Regions from separate parts of the Homo sapiens genome. Here all the other regions are linked to region 1. Evidence: promoter capture Hi-C in human tissues and cell types (Jung and others, 2019). All regions are on one chromosome and are shown on one strand. The core of a region is centred on a gene start or on the middle of the fragment in contact, and the rest is flanking DNA. Distances in the headings are between cores, read along the strand shown. Region 1 holds the start of TAGLN3 (transgelin 3). Region 2 has its middle 85 kb from the start of PLCXD2-AS1. Region 3 overlaps LOC107984087 (a long non-coding RNA gene). Region 4 overlaps LOC105374040 (a long non-coding RNA gene).

Region 1 (3,178 bases), core at 1-2,500:
GTTTGAATCACAGAGCCTGCGGCCCTCAAACCCTCAAACACACACGAGCATTTGGTCAGAAATGCAGTTAACAAATAAGGACTCCTTTCAGTTTCATGAGAACGCATCCACTCAATAAACAGACACTGAACACTTCCAGGGTGCATGGCTCCCACAAGAATGTGAAGGTGGCTAGTCCCCCTCCTCCCTTCTTTGTTTTACTGTGTAACCAACACGATCCCCTAGGGAAAGAAATGGCCCCAGAAGAGCTGATGCACCAGGAAGGCTGGGGAAATTACAAGGACATACTTATCTCTATTCTCATTAGAAAAATCAAAAGGGCTTCGAATTTGCCAACTCAGAAGGGAGATGTAATGCTAGGGTGAGTGGAGAACCCCCAAGCTAGCTAGGGAATAGTGCATGGAGCCCAAATCTTCCAACCCTGAAGAAATAAAGGCATTCTCATCCCCTCCCGGTGAGACATAGAGCTTGGCAACAGCAGCTCTTCCCGCAGCCTTACGTTAAAAGAAAGGGCCCTGGAGGGTTTCCCTGCCCACCGCCCCAGCAACCGAGATCGCTGCCGGCCTTACCGTCCCGTCCATTAACCATTTCTGAAAATGGGCCCTGCCGGGGGGCGGGTGCTCTATGTCCTCGGCGCACTGCAGGATGATCCAGTCCACCAGCTTGTTCTCCAGGTCCGCATCATACTTCTGCTCGATCTTCTCCTGCACCTCTCGGCTTAAGCCATAGCTCGGGCCCCTGTTAGCCATCTCTGGAAAGAAGAGAAGACACGCGCGGCATCCACACAATAGCAGCAGCAGCAGCCTCCGGCTCCCTGCAGACGGGGCTGGGATATGGCTGGGCAACCTGGCCCAGCAGCAGCAAAGAGGGCAGAAAGCCGGGCGTGGTTTAAATCAAGGAGCCAATGAAGCCAATGGGGTTTCACCTACAAACGGGAAAGAAAAGCACAGCTACCCGCCAGTAACTCTAGAATAAACCTCCGGCCGGTCCAGGGGGGCTGGAATCCCCCTCCCTATCCCGCCTATCAATGAGACCAGATGATATAACACGGACTCACAATCAAGTCTGAACCCCCAGGCAGCAAGGGGGATGGGTGGCGGACGTTTCTTCCCCCTTCTCAGTAGCACTTTGCAAAGGCAGAAACGATGAGATCGGGAAGAGCAGGTAATTAGCAGGCAGGGAGGAAGCCTCCTTTCATGTTGAACTGCAGCCGCTGCTGCCTCGCGCCTGGAAGAATGGCACATTGATTTGATTTTCTCATGGCTGAGGGGGCTCAACCAGGGCCGTTGCTAAGAGCCCTCCAAAAAGCCAGCCCTCTCCTGTGTCAATCAAGCCCGCCTGCCTCCCTCCCGCTGAGAGCCTCTTTCTCATCTGCACAATTCTTTCCCTCTTCTGGGGAGACAGCCGATTGTCTACGAGGCCAGCAGCTGCACAAGGGGATGAGGGCCTGTGGGAGGGTCCGTTCTACCAACTGTCCATCTGTCGGGAATAGCCAAGCTACTTTCCCCCTGCCCTGAGGTAACAACTGTCTGGCAGGACAGGAGGGGAGGGACTGAGAGCTGCTATCATTTACTTGTTCAGCTGCCAGCCCAACTTCACCCAGAAACTTCCATCCTGAAACTGTTGTGCCTCAGTTTGACTTATTCAAGGGAGGTATTTTTTTCATGCTACTCTTAACTGAAAGACACTAAGAACAAGTTTTATAAATTATTATTATAATTCTTACTATATATTTTTAGACAGAGTCTCGCTCTGTTGCCCAGGCTGGAGTGCAGTGGCACAATCTCGGCTGGCTGCAACCTCTGCCTCCTGGGTTCAAGCGATTCTCCTGCCTCAGCCTCCCAGGTAGCTAGGATTACAGGTGTGTGCCACCAGGCCTGGCTAATTTTTGTATTTTTAGTGGAGATGGGGTTTTGCCACGTTGGTCAGGCTGGTCTTGAACTCCTGACCTCAGGTGATCTGACTGCCTCGGCCTCCCAAAGTTCTGGGATTACAGGCATGAGCCACCACGCCCGGCAAGTTTTATAAATTAAACAAAACTCAACGACTAAGAACTCTTAGAGTGAAAGGTTTTGATAGAATGTAAAGACTTCATCTGAAGTAAGGACCGTGAAGGCACAACCGACATATTGTCAGAAGTAACTGAATATTTCTCATGGGCAAACAAGCACTCAGGAGAAACCATTAGCTCTAAGTTGGCCCCACATTTTTATAACAGCTAAAGGGCTTGGCAGTTTGTCCTCCTAGACTGTAAGCCATTTGTGGGTAAAGATTGAGTCTCATTGGTGTTGTGTAATTCTCTGGGTGTTTTTCATGAGAAAAATTCCACATTTTTTTTCGTTTGGTTCATTTCTTCATTCAACAGATATTTACTGAGTGTTTATGCCAACTACTGGACTGAGGAGGAATAAAATACAATTCTTGCATTGAAAACAGATTGATAAATTGACTCAAGCATATTAAATAAAGCAATTCTGGGTACATGGGATGATGATCTTTGTCCCTGTGGGAAATTGATTAGAAGCTATGCAGGAAATGACTCCTCAAATAATACATGTATTGAGAAAAATCTCCTACCGGCTGATGCCTGGACTAATGAAAATTTAATTACTTAGGAGATATGTGGGTGGTTTGCCTGAAAAAGACTTAGCGGTCAGTCGTTGAAGGCCTGGCAGACAGTCCTCTGAAAACAGAAAACTAGGAGATTCAGGAGAGCAGTAGGTTTAGGAAGAGACAAGGGAAGGGCTGACTAAGGCAGGTCTTGATGCTGCATGGAATCATCAGTTGAAGAAGCTCAAAAGACAGCAGCACTGTGTTGGGACACTTGGAGCTTAGGGGAAGAGCTTAGAGCAGGGAAATTGACAGAAGAATTATGGAAGTCATCATTGGTATCTTGGGGAGGAGCCATAAGGCTAGTTCCAACCTTAGACTAAGGGAACGGAGTCCCAAACAGAAACCACATAATTTTTTCCATGGCTGGAATGGCTCTAAGGAAGTTGTTGGTTTGATATGCAAAGCTTGAAACAATTCTAAAGATGTACATTTGCTTGACTTTTTTTAAACACTGTGTTTTGCAAATCTTTTGTACCCAAAGAGTCCCTCATATTATAACAGAGTAGCTGGTGTGCTTTAAGTGAATGACTGGGCCCATGCTTCTAGAGAGGATACAATGGCAAAG
Region 2 (3,178 bases), core at 259-2,758, 240 kb after region 1:
ACCGTGCTAGTTTACCATGTACTCTGTCTGTGTATATTTGGTAAGAATCTCAGATGTTGGGATTGTTTTAGTCAGTTGTATCAAGTAGGGTGGTTGTAAGTGCTTTTAGGAGAAACTTACTTAATGGATTTCTTTGTTCATGTGACCAGTTTGCCACACAATAACTACCATTCCTGGGCTGCTGACCAACAGTTGAGAACTTCCCAAACATTACTTCATCAGATCTTCCCTGTAGCCCTATGAGGTAAATGTTACTATCTCCATTTTATAAACGGGAAAGTGGATTTAAAGAGGTTCCATAGCTTGTCAAAGGTCACACAACTTGAGTAGCGGTGTCAAAGGTCATGTGCAGGTCTGTCTGAATCCAGAGTTATACCATTACCAGAAGGCCAAACTGCTTCCTTTCTATTTTGGCATTATATTTTCTTGAGCAAACATAGCCATAACTGCTTGTCTTCGTCTGTTCGGGCTGCTTTAACAATTTATCATAGACTGGGTAGCTTAGAAAAAACAGAATTCATTCCTCACAGTTCTAGGAACTGGGAAGTCTAAGATCAAGGCACCAACAGATTCAGTGTCTGGTGAGGGACTGTTTCCTGGTTCACGAATGGTGCCTTCTCACTGTGTCATCATGTGGTAGAAGGGGCTGGCCTGCTCTGGGGTCTCTTTTATGAGGGCACTAATCCTAATCACAAGGGCTTTGTCCTCGTGATCGAATCACCTCCTAATACTACAACCTAATACCATCACCTAGGATCTCAAAACATGAATTTCTGGGGATACAAACATTCAGATTATAGCACTGCTCTTTTCCTTGCAGTAGAGTAGTAGTTGTAGTAACAATAATAATAAAAATAAATAGTAATAGCAAGACATATGGGGCTTACTATGTATCAGGAACTGCCCTAAGCACTTGATAATTTATTAAGTAATTTATTCCTAGGAAAATCTCACAATGTACAGTTGATGACAAGTCCCACTTACAGATGAGCGAACTAAAACATGAAGAGTGTGAGTAAATTGCCCTAGGTCACCCAGCTAGAAAGTGGTAGAGGTGGAAATGAAAGTCAAACAGTTGGGCTCCAAAGCCCTGTGCAGTTTGCAGTTCGCTATTATGTTAGAGTAACTTGTCATAGAAATAACTCACTCAAGGGAAATTCACTGTATTGTTCACACAGCATAAACAGTGTGTGAAGAGTTGACTCTCCAGGGGAGAAGAATGCTAGGGAGTCAATGAATCAAATACCTAAAATCCTTGATTTGCATTGTCCAGTTTCCTAACATACTCACTTTCAGGCAGGATCATAAAGCTCAGTGCAGCTATGGCTCCCTGCCTTTCCTTGGGGCTGCCTGTAGAAGTGCTGGGAGACATGCAAGGATTCTTGCAGGTGCAGAAGAGGGTGGGCTCTCAGAGCTATATACCCTGCACCAAACAGGCAGCTAGTTTTAATCTTTCCATTTCTCTTCTCACTTCTTAGTCATTGCTCTCCTTTTTCAAAAAAGGAGAATTAATTCTTTGGAACTCTTAGGAACCAGAGGGCTTTGAGTCTGCAATGTTTATGAATCTGCTGAGAGTGCTGGGAAATGAGGCTTCTTTTTTGCACATGAAGTCATATTTTAACCCAAACCAAAAGAAAAAAAAGAGAAAGATTATTTGAGAGTCTGTGGGGATCAGAGCTGGGTATTGTGTTACAGAAATTTTCCATTTCAGACACAAACTACGTACAGCAGTATGTGAGCCAAAAAAGGCCAAGAGAGACTCCAGGAGGGCTTGAAGAAATAATACCTCCTCCTTTAATCCTGACGAGTGTGGCCAGGTTCTTGGGAGGGCTGGGTGGAAGGTCTGGATCAGATCACACTTAGAGGCCTGTGATTAGAATGATGATAATTGTGGCATCACAAGGCATAACTTCAGAGCGCTCCCTAGGATGCCCTTGGGCAAGGTACTTAACCCTTCTGTGCCTTAGTTTCCAATATCTGAAAATGGGATAAACACCTCAAAATTTATTGACAGTGTCAAAACATTACACATATTGGCTATATAATAATAATATGGTAATGCTAGTTATATAATTAAATAATACATATAGTTAGCATTTATTGAGGCCTTACTATACATGAGCTATTGTGTTAAAGCTTCCTAAACATTATCTTCTTTAAACTTCACAACAGTCCTCTGAGATCAATTGTGTTATCCTTCCAGTACTGCAGTTTAGAAAAGTAAGTGACTGACTTAAGTTTATCACCTTAGGTAGTAGACTTGGATCTCAAATCTAAGTCTAGTCTGGCACCAAAACCCATGCAATGAACTAATAGCTAAGACGCTGGTCTGGTTCTCAGCTGAATGTGGCGGATGGGATTGGGGGGGCATCCCTTTTTGGATAAAATGTGTTCCTCTGACCCCTCATCCTCTCTTTTAGCAGTGCCCCTTTTAGGTGAACATACAAGCACCTATTTTAAGGAAATGTCAGGCTGGGGGTAATTACTCTGTAATTCTTCTTATGTATACACATTAAATAAATTTGTATGCTTTTTCTGCTATTAAAAAAAAATGTTGGGCTGGTTTTCCAGGTAAATAAACCAGTCATGGCCTCTGTGGCTCAATTCTGAAACCGGTATTGCCTAAAGCAGTGGGTCTTATGGTGTGGTATCCCCGACCAGCATCACCTGGGAACTTGTTAGAGCTAAAAATTCTCTTGCCCCACCCACATGTACTGAATCAGAAATTCTGGGTGTGTAGATCAGCAATCCTGTTTTAACAAGCCCTTGAAGTGATCTGAATGCAGCTGAAGTTTGAGAACGACTGGCCTCTGGGGTAGATAAAGCAGAGAGTTAAATCAGGAATAGAGATCTAACTATGATTCTTAACAGCTGCTAGTGACTCATTCTCCCTAGTCATTCTCTTCTGAGTTTCTGCCTTTTTAGGATGAAGGATTTGTTCACGTCCCATCTTGTGTGATAAATTTCATCAACAGTGTCAGTTCCTTTCTGAATCAATGCCGTGTATAAGGAGACTTTGAGCTTTATACACTCCCATGTGTACCCATACCCACTTCTGCTTTTGGAACCACTTGCTCATTTCCCATTGTGGATGATTAGCTTCAAATTATCTTCATGACAGAAGCAAAAAAATTGAATAACACTGTAGTTCTAGGTGGAATAGGAGGATCACAAAGCT
Region 3 (3,178 bases), core at 503-3,002, 210 kb after region 1:
TCAAGTGCTGTGAAGAGAGTATGAAGAGACTACTAGTTGTGTGGATGAAAAGTTCTGGAAGGTATATATTAAACCTTTCAAGATCTTTGGAGCTTGGTACCTTATCAGAGAAGAGACATTTACCTGAGGAGTTGGAGTAAACTTTTGTGGTCAGAAAGGAGACACAATGAACTTCCTGGGGTCAAAGGGCAACCATATTACTACAACAGCAGGAGTCTCTTTCTTGGCCAGTCTCTAAATGGAGAGTGGTCTTTATTTCTAATAAGGGAAGCTGAATATTCAGGGCTATGCTATGAGATTTTCAGGGTTATGAAAACCCAGAGTATGCCTATTTCTAAGCAGGAACAAAATTAAGAGGCTAGGCCTCCACTTCCTAGTAGCTGACTAGCTGTAACATTTCTGAGGTGCTGATAAGATCCAAGGGCAATTTGAACGCCCTGCCCCCAGTCAGGCTCCTCACGCCCATGGAGTCATGATAGCACTGGCTGTGGTATGAGAATTCCATTCCAAAATTCTGAAGGGGCTTTGGTTGGATAGAATCTGCCATGTGAAGATCATGGATTTCACAATATGGGGGTGGTGAGAACCAAAGAATCATTGTTTCCAAGATTTCTCAGGAACTCAGTTTTGTATTGCTCAGTTGGCTAAAGACAAGGGCCAAACAAAAATACTCAGGGCACATAGCCCCGGTGATGATAGCTTGTCCAATTTTGGCACGGCGGTAACTGCTATTTGTTGGTCGCTGTTTATAGGGTTAGACACCATATGAACTAAGCACATAATATATATTATTATCTCATGTAATTCTGAACAACTCTGCAAAGTAAGCTATTACCATTGCTATTTTACAGGTGAGAAAATGGCATTTCAGAAAAGTCAAATAACTTTCCAAAGTCCACAAAATTAATAAAGAAATTTGAACTGAGAACCATTTGAATCCAAAATCTGCACTCTCATTCACTATAGTACATGGCTTCCCATGTATATATGTCAGAGCAGTTAAATCTTTCTTCTTTTTTTAAACGGAGAATGTACTTATAGCAAAACCATTTTGTTCTTTATGGCCTCTAAAATAATCCTGACTGGAAGATATCTGCCAATTATGTAACCAACTATGAGTGGTGCCTCCTTAATTGTTGGTTGAACAAATGACTACGTAGTTCCCATAGAGAGCATATTATTACACCTTCTCAGAAAGCAGACTAATAAGGAGTTCTATTGGAGTCTATAGTCTTTTCTTCAAAGGAACTCCTAATCTGATGCCAGGCATCTGATAGAACCTTGAGCAACAGGCATAATTTGTTGTTTAGCAGAGACCTCTTTGATTGACCAGGAGTGGGGAGCACTGTTTTTTCCATCGCCTTGATAAAAATACCTGCAGTGACGATTGGGAAAAGTAAAACTCAGGGATTTGATGTGTGAACCTGGCATTCCTTTCTCACCAATATGATTCCAACAGGGAGAAGAACATAATATAGCGCTCATCGTTTCATTTCTCTACCCACGATCTTGCAATGTTTTTCCTCTGCCAACAAGGAAAGAAAATGGAGCTATTCCTTTACTGAGCACCTACTATGTGTCTGATAGGTGCTTTCCCGTAAGTTATTCTTTTACTCTTTAAAGCAGGGGTGTGTAATCTTTTGTCTTCCCTAGGCCATATTGGAAGAAGAAGAATTGTCTTGGGCCACACATAAAATACACTAACACTAACGATAGCTGATGAGCTGAAAAAAAATTGCAAAACAAATCTCCTAATGTTTTAAGAAAGTTTATGAATTGTGTTGGGCTGCTTTCAAAGCTGTCCTGGGCCTCATGAGGCTTGCAGGCTTCAGGTTGGACAAGCTTGCTTTAAAGCATCCCTGTGTGGTAGGTTTAGCTATTTCAATCTTACTGCATCATCTTAGGCTCTTTTTAGAGAGAAAGAATAAAAGGTAGATAGATGGGAGAAGTAAACAGGAGAAGAGACAAAGGGTCTTTATAAAGATCTTCTTTTCATTTAGGGAATATCAAATTAATGTCATTTAAAATAATATTGACACATGCTTTCTCCTCTTGGACTTTTCTACCTTTAGAGGACAAAGGCCTTGGTGTTAAATAGCAGACTGACACACAAAAGTCCCAGACTCTACTTCTGACCTGGGTGAATTTATCACTATGTCACTCTTAGTTTTTGGTCATAGGAAGGTAGTCATCCAGATATAACCCCATGGCATTCATAGGAAACAACATGACATCTATCCAAATTACTGCTTTGAAATGACATTAAAAAAAAAATAGCATAATGGTTTTTTCCATCCACTCGTTTCTGTGACTGAGTTTCCTTCCTTTGTCCTTTAAGCACATTTAGGGCTGAAAAGTCCCACCAATTCTCCTCCTGGAAACTAGTAACCTTCTTGGGTCAGAATGCATGAGACAAACATCTTGGTTAAAGTGAGAAGACTATTTATGGCCAGGAGTCTTGACCTGTTTCCAATTCATGCTCCCATTCCAGTCTTTGCCAGACTGGAGGATTTCTTACCCTCTATTTCTAATATATTTACTGAAAAATTTACTGCTTTATTCTCTAATGTTTATTTTGGCGGACTACAAAGTCTAAGTTTATTTAAAAACTGTAGAAAAAAATTGGTGTATCTTCAACTTGGTGATCTATTTTAGAGAAACATGCAATCAGGTTGGATTCACCCCAGAATAGATTGGGTACGCTGCCAGAGACTCGACCCCGGGGTGGTCCTTTCTTCTTGGCCGTGGCTGTGGAATGCCTCCCCTATCTCCCATGTGTCCTCTTTGAGGTGAAGTGGACCAGAAGGAAAAAGAGGAAAAAGGCAGGTCAGAAGCAGAGCCCCAGAGAACACAGAAGAGAAAGCCTAGAGTAGCCCAAGCTACCAACCATGTCTTTGAAAATGGTAGAAGTAGATTGAGCCCTCCAATTCTAGCTTGAAAGGGTTCTCATCTGTAGCAAGTGTCAGGCCACAGTCACACACCATGAAAAGTCAGGAAAAGGGTCTGTGAATGTTATGATGGAGAGAACATTCATTTTCAGCATTTGAAACCCAAGTGCAAAAAAATATCCAAAGATAAAGGAGAATATCTCACTTATAAGTTCCATTTGATTTAAAGTTAACTGTTCTCTAAAGAAATTCTGATTAAATAGCATGCTATAGAGCACACAGTAAATACT
Region 4 (3,178 bases), core at 220-2,719, 140 kb after region 1:
GTTAGTTTGCTGAGAATGATGGTTTCCAGCATCATCCACGTCCCTGCAAAGGACATGAATTCATTCTTTTTTATGGCTGCATGGTATTCCATGGTGTATATGTGCCACATTTTCTTCATCCAGTCTATCATTGATGGGCACTTGGGTTGGTTCCAAGTCTTTGTTATTGTGAACAGTGCTGCAATAAACATACGTTTGTATGTGTCTTTATAGTAGAATGATTTATAATTCTTTGGGTATATACCCAGTAATGGGATTGCTGGGTCAAATGGTATTTCTAGTTCTAGATCCCTGAGGAATCGCCACACTGTCTTCCACAATGGTTGAACTAACTTATACTCCCACCAACAGTGTAAAAGCGTTCCCATTTCTCCACATTCTCTGCAGCGTCTGTTATTTCCTGACTTTTTAATGATTGCCATTCTAACTGGCGTGAGATGGTATCTCGTTGTGGTTTTGATTTGCATTTCTGTAATGACTAGTGATGATGAGCTTTTTTTCATATGTTTGTTAGGAATGCCGGGTTTTTTAGAGGAATTCTTTTCCCTGTCCTGAGTTTTTGCCCTGCAGAAGCATACATACACTGATCAATCCAACAGTTAAACAGTTAAGTGCTCCAGCAATGTTCTTTTCTCACCCACGTCATCTCTTTCCTCCTCTTTTTTGGATCATCCCCATAAACATACAATCATTTTATTTCCATTACCTTGGAATTTTTTTTTCTTTTCTTTTCTTTTTTTTTTTTTTGAGACAGGGCCTCACTTTGTCACCCAGGTTGGAGTGCAATGGCACAGTCATAGCTCACTGCAGCCTTAACCTCCTGGGCTCAAGTGATCCTCCCACTTCAGCCTCCTGAATAGCTGGGACCACAGGTGCAGACCACCATGCCCAGCTAATATTGAATTTTTTGCAGAGATGGGGTTTCACCACATTGCCCAGACTGTTCTTGAACTCCTGGGCTCAAGCGATCTGTCTGCCTCCGCCACCCTAAGTGTTGGGATGACAGGTGTGAGCCACTGTGCCCAGCCTCCTACTTCCCCTTTATCACTCACTTAGCCCCTGCCACAGTGGCCTCGTAGACTAGATTCCTAGGTAAATCCGTTCTATCTCAGGGCCTTTGTTCTAATTGCCCTCTCTGCCTATAATTCCCTCCTCCCAAGTATCTGCATGGTTCACTCCCTCACTTCCTTCAAGACCCTGTTCAATGTCACCGTGTTGCTCAGGCCTGCTCTGACCACTCTACTTAAAAGTTTAAAATGTGTTTTCCATACTACTTAAATTTACTTTTTGACAAAGTCACCACATTCTACTATATTGTAAAATGTACTTTTTAAATTATGTTTATTGTCTGTCTCTCCTCACTAGAATGTAAGGCAGGCAGGCAGAGAGTTTTGCCTGTTCTCTCCAGTGCTATATCCCTAGTGTGCCTACAAGGATACCGGACATGTAAATGGTGCTCAAGAATAAATGATGGCTTTGACCCAAAGCACTGTGTTGCAAACATTTCCTTGCCTCGAGCAATGCCAGAAATACACTTGACTACACAGACATCTTAGAGACAACCTTTCTCCCTTCAGGTCTAAGGAGAATGTGCACCAACACAGCACATTTAGAATGGCCATAATTAGATTGCCAATATTTATGTCTAAGAAAAAAATAGCTAAATTTATTGAGAGCAATAATTACTATTGTATACGTATCCGGTATTCTTCCAAATATAGGACAATATTAGTTGATGCGGTGAGAGTTACTGTTTGTTACTACTCCCATTTTATAAGTAAAAAAGGAATCACAGAGAAGTCAGTTGTCACTCAGGTAATAAGTTGGTAGAGGCAGAATTTGAGCACTTGTTCTTGAGTTCATTGTCTTTAATGCTACCTTCTACCTCTTTTCTAAGTATGAATGTTACTAGGGGATATTTCTGTATAATGAATAATTCCAAATTACTAGACAAAAAGTAATCCTCACTGGCCTCCCTTCACTGCCTTGTTTTATCTGCTAGCATCTCTATCTCTTAGGATAGCCAAGCTCCTAGAAGGCAAAGGGAGTCATTTTATTCATATTTGTATGAATCATACTCCAAGACTTATATATGGAAGGGACTCAAAAAGTAGTCATTGAATGTGACTTTTTCAAGTGACTAAACCCAGCAAAGTTTCCCATTCCTGATGAGTTAGAGTGGTTTTCAATAGCTTTCATAAGGCCATAGCAGCCTGAAGATAGACGAGACCACCCTGAAGGTGCAAGTCTTAAATTAGATAAATTCAGTCCAGGCTCAATGGCTCATGCCTGTAATCCCAACACCTTGGGAGCCGAGGTAGCAGGATTGCTTGAGATTAGAAGTTCCAGAGCAGCCTGGCCAACATGGCAAAACCCGTCTCTACTAAAAATACAAAAATATTAGCCGGGCATGGTGGTGCACCATCTGTAGTCCCAGCTACTCAGGAGGCTGAGGTGGGAGAATCACCTGAGAATTCGAGGCTGGGTGATCCATGATCGCACCATTGCACTCCAGCCTGGGTGGCAGAGTGAGACCTTGTCGCCAAAAAAAAAAAAAAAAAAAAAAAAGACAAATGCAGACCTCAACATCTATAGAAAGCACTCAATAAAGTGCAACTGTTATTGTTATTATTATATTACCAGACTTTCTTTTAGTAATGGTGATGGAAAGAAAGAAGAAAGAAAGGAAAGAAAAGAAGGAAGGAAGCAAAGAAGGGAGGAAGGAAGGAAGGAAAAAGAGGGAAGCGCGGGAGGGGGAGAGAGAGAAAGAAAGAAAGGAAGGAAGGAAGGAAGAAAGAGAGAGTCTTTCTACCTTTTCTATTTCCTGGGTTCTTTATAATAAAGTTTTCTGTTTAATCACAGACCAGAGTCCTGCCTGCGCTCTGCCATTCCTTATCACTAGAGATATTGTGTTGTAAACTAAACAGCAGACCTTTCTTGTTTGCCTCTCCAGGATCTGTAGTGGTTACAGTCCCTGATCTTACTTTCCTGTGTCCTTCACCCTCTCAGGTGGGGAACCTTAAAGTGTTGCACAGTGTTGAGGCTAAAGCAACTCTATCTTGGATGCTAATCTGCCATGCTGACTTTTTTTTTTCTTTTTACCCTAATTCCATGGAAGATTACCTGTTGACTTCTGATTAACCCGAGTTCTGGGAATTACTCTAAGATTTGTACTTTA

Evidence for each region. Contacts are between HindIII fragments. The study calls those that stand out against the background at their distance.
Region 2: a fragment that was not itself captured here is called in contact with the fragment with the promoter of TAGLN3 in region 1 in 1 of the 25 tissues and cell types used here (IMR-90 fibroblasts).
Region 3: a fragment that was not itself captured here is called in contact with the fragment with the promoter of TAGLN3 in region 1 in 1 of the 25 tissues and cell types used here (bladder).
Region 4: a contact is called between a fragment that was not itself captured here and the fragment with the promoter of TAGLN3 in region 1, in 2 of the 25 tissues and cell types used here (heart left ventricle and mesenchymal stem cells).

What each region holds. Positions count from the first base shown.
Region 1 is chr3:111,996,994-112,000,171 of GRCh38, reverse strand. TAGLN3 (transgelin 3) reads right to left here and starts at 1,250. Exons shown (of 5, transcript NM_001008272.2): 1 at 1,058-1,250; 2 at 570-751. The coding sequence starts at 749. The HindIII fragment of the contact is 6,637 bases long and covers 1-3,178 here.
Region 2 is chr3:111,761,235-111,764,412 of GRCh38, reverse strand. It overlaps a transcript of PHLDB2 not described here. Among named protein-coding and RNA genes, the nearest start is that of PLCXD2-AS1, 85 kb to the right of the region's middle. The HindIII fragment of the contact is 9,920 bases long and covers 1-3,178 here.
Region 3 is chr3:111,787,310-111,790,487 of GRCh38, reverse strand. It overlaps LOC107984087 (a long non-coding RNA gene), which reads left to right. Exons shown (of 4, transcript XR_001740848.2): 3 at 1,460-1,597. It also overlaps a transcript of PHLDB2 not described here. Among named protein-coding and RNA genes, the nearest start is that of PHLDB2, 70 kb to the left of the region's middle. The HindIII fragment of the contact is 3,817 bases long and covers 1-3,178 here.
Region 4 is chr3:111,855,020-111,858,197 of GRCh38, reverse strand. All of the region lies in intron 1 of LOC105374040 (a long non-coding RNA gene), which reads left to right. It also overlaps a transcript of PHLDB2 not described here. Among named protein-coding and RNA genes, the nearest start is that of PHLDB2, 2.7 kb to the left of the region's middle. The HindIII fragment of the contact is 6,150 bases long and covers 1-3,178 here.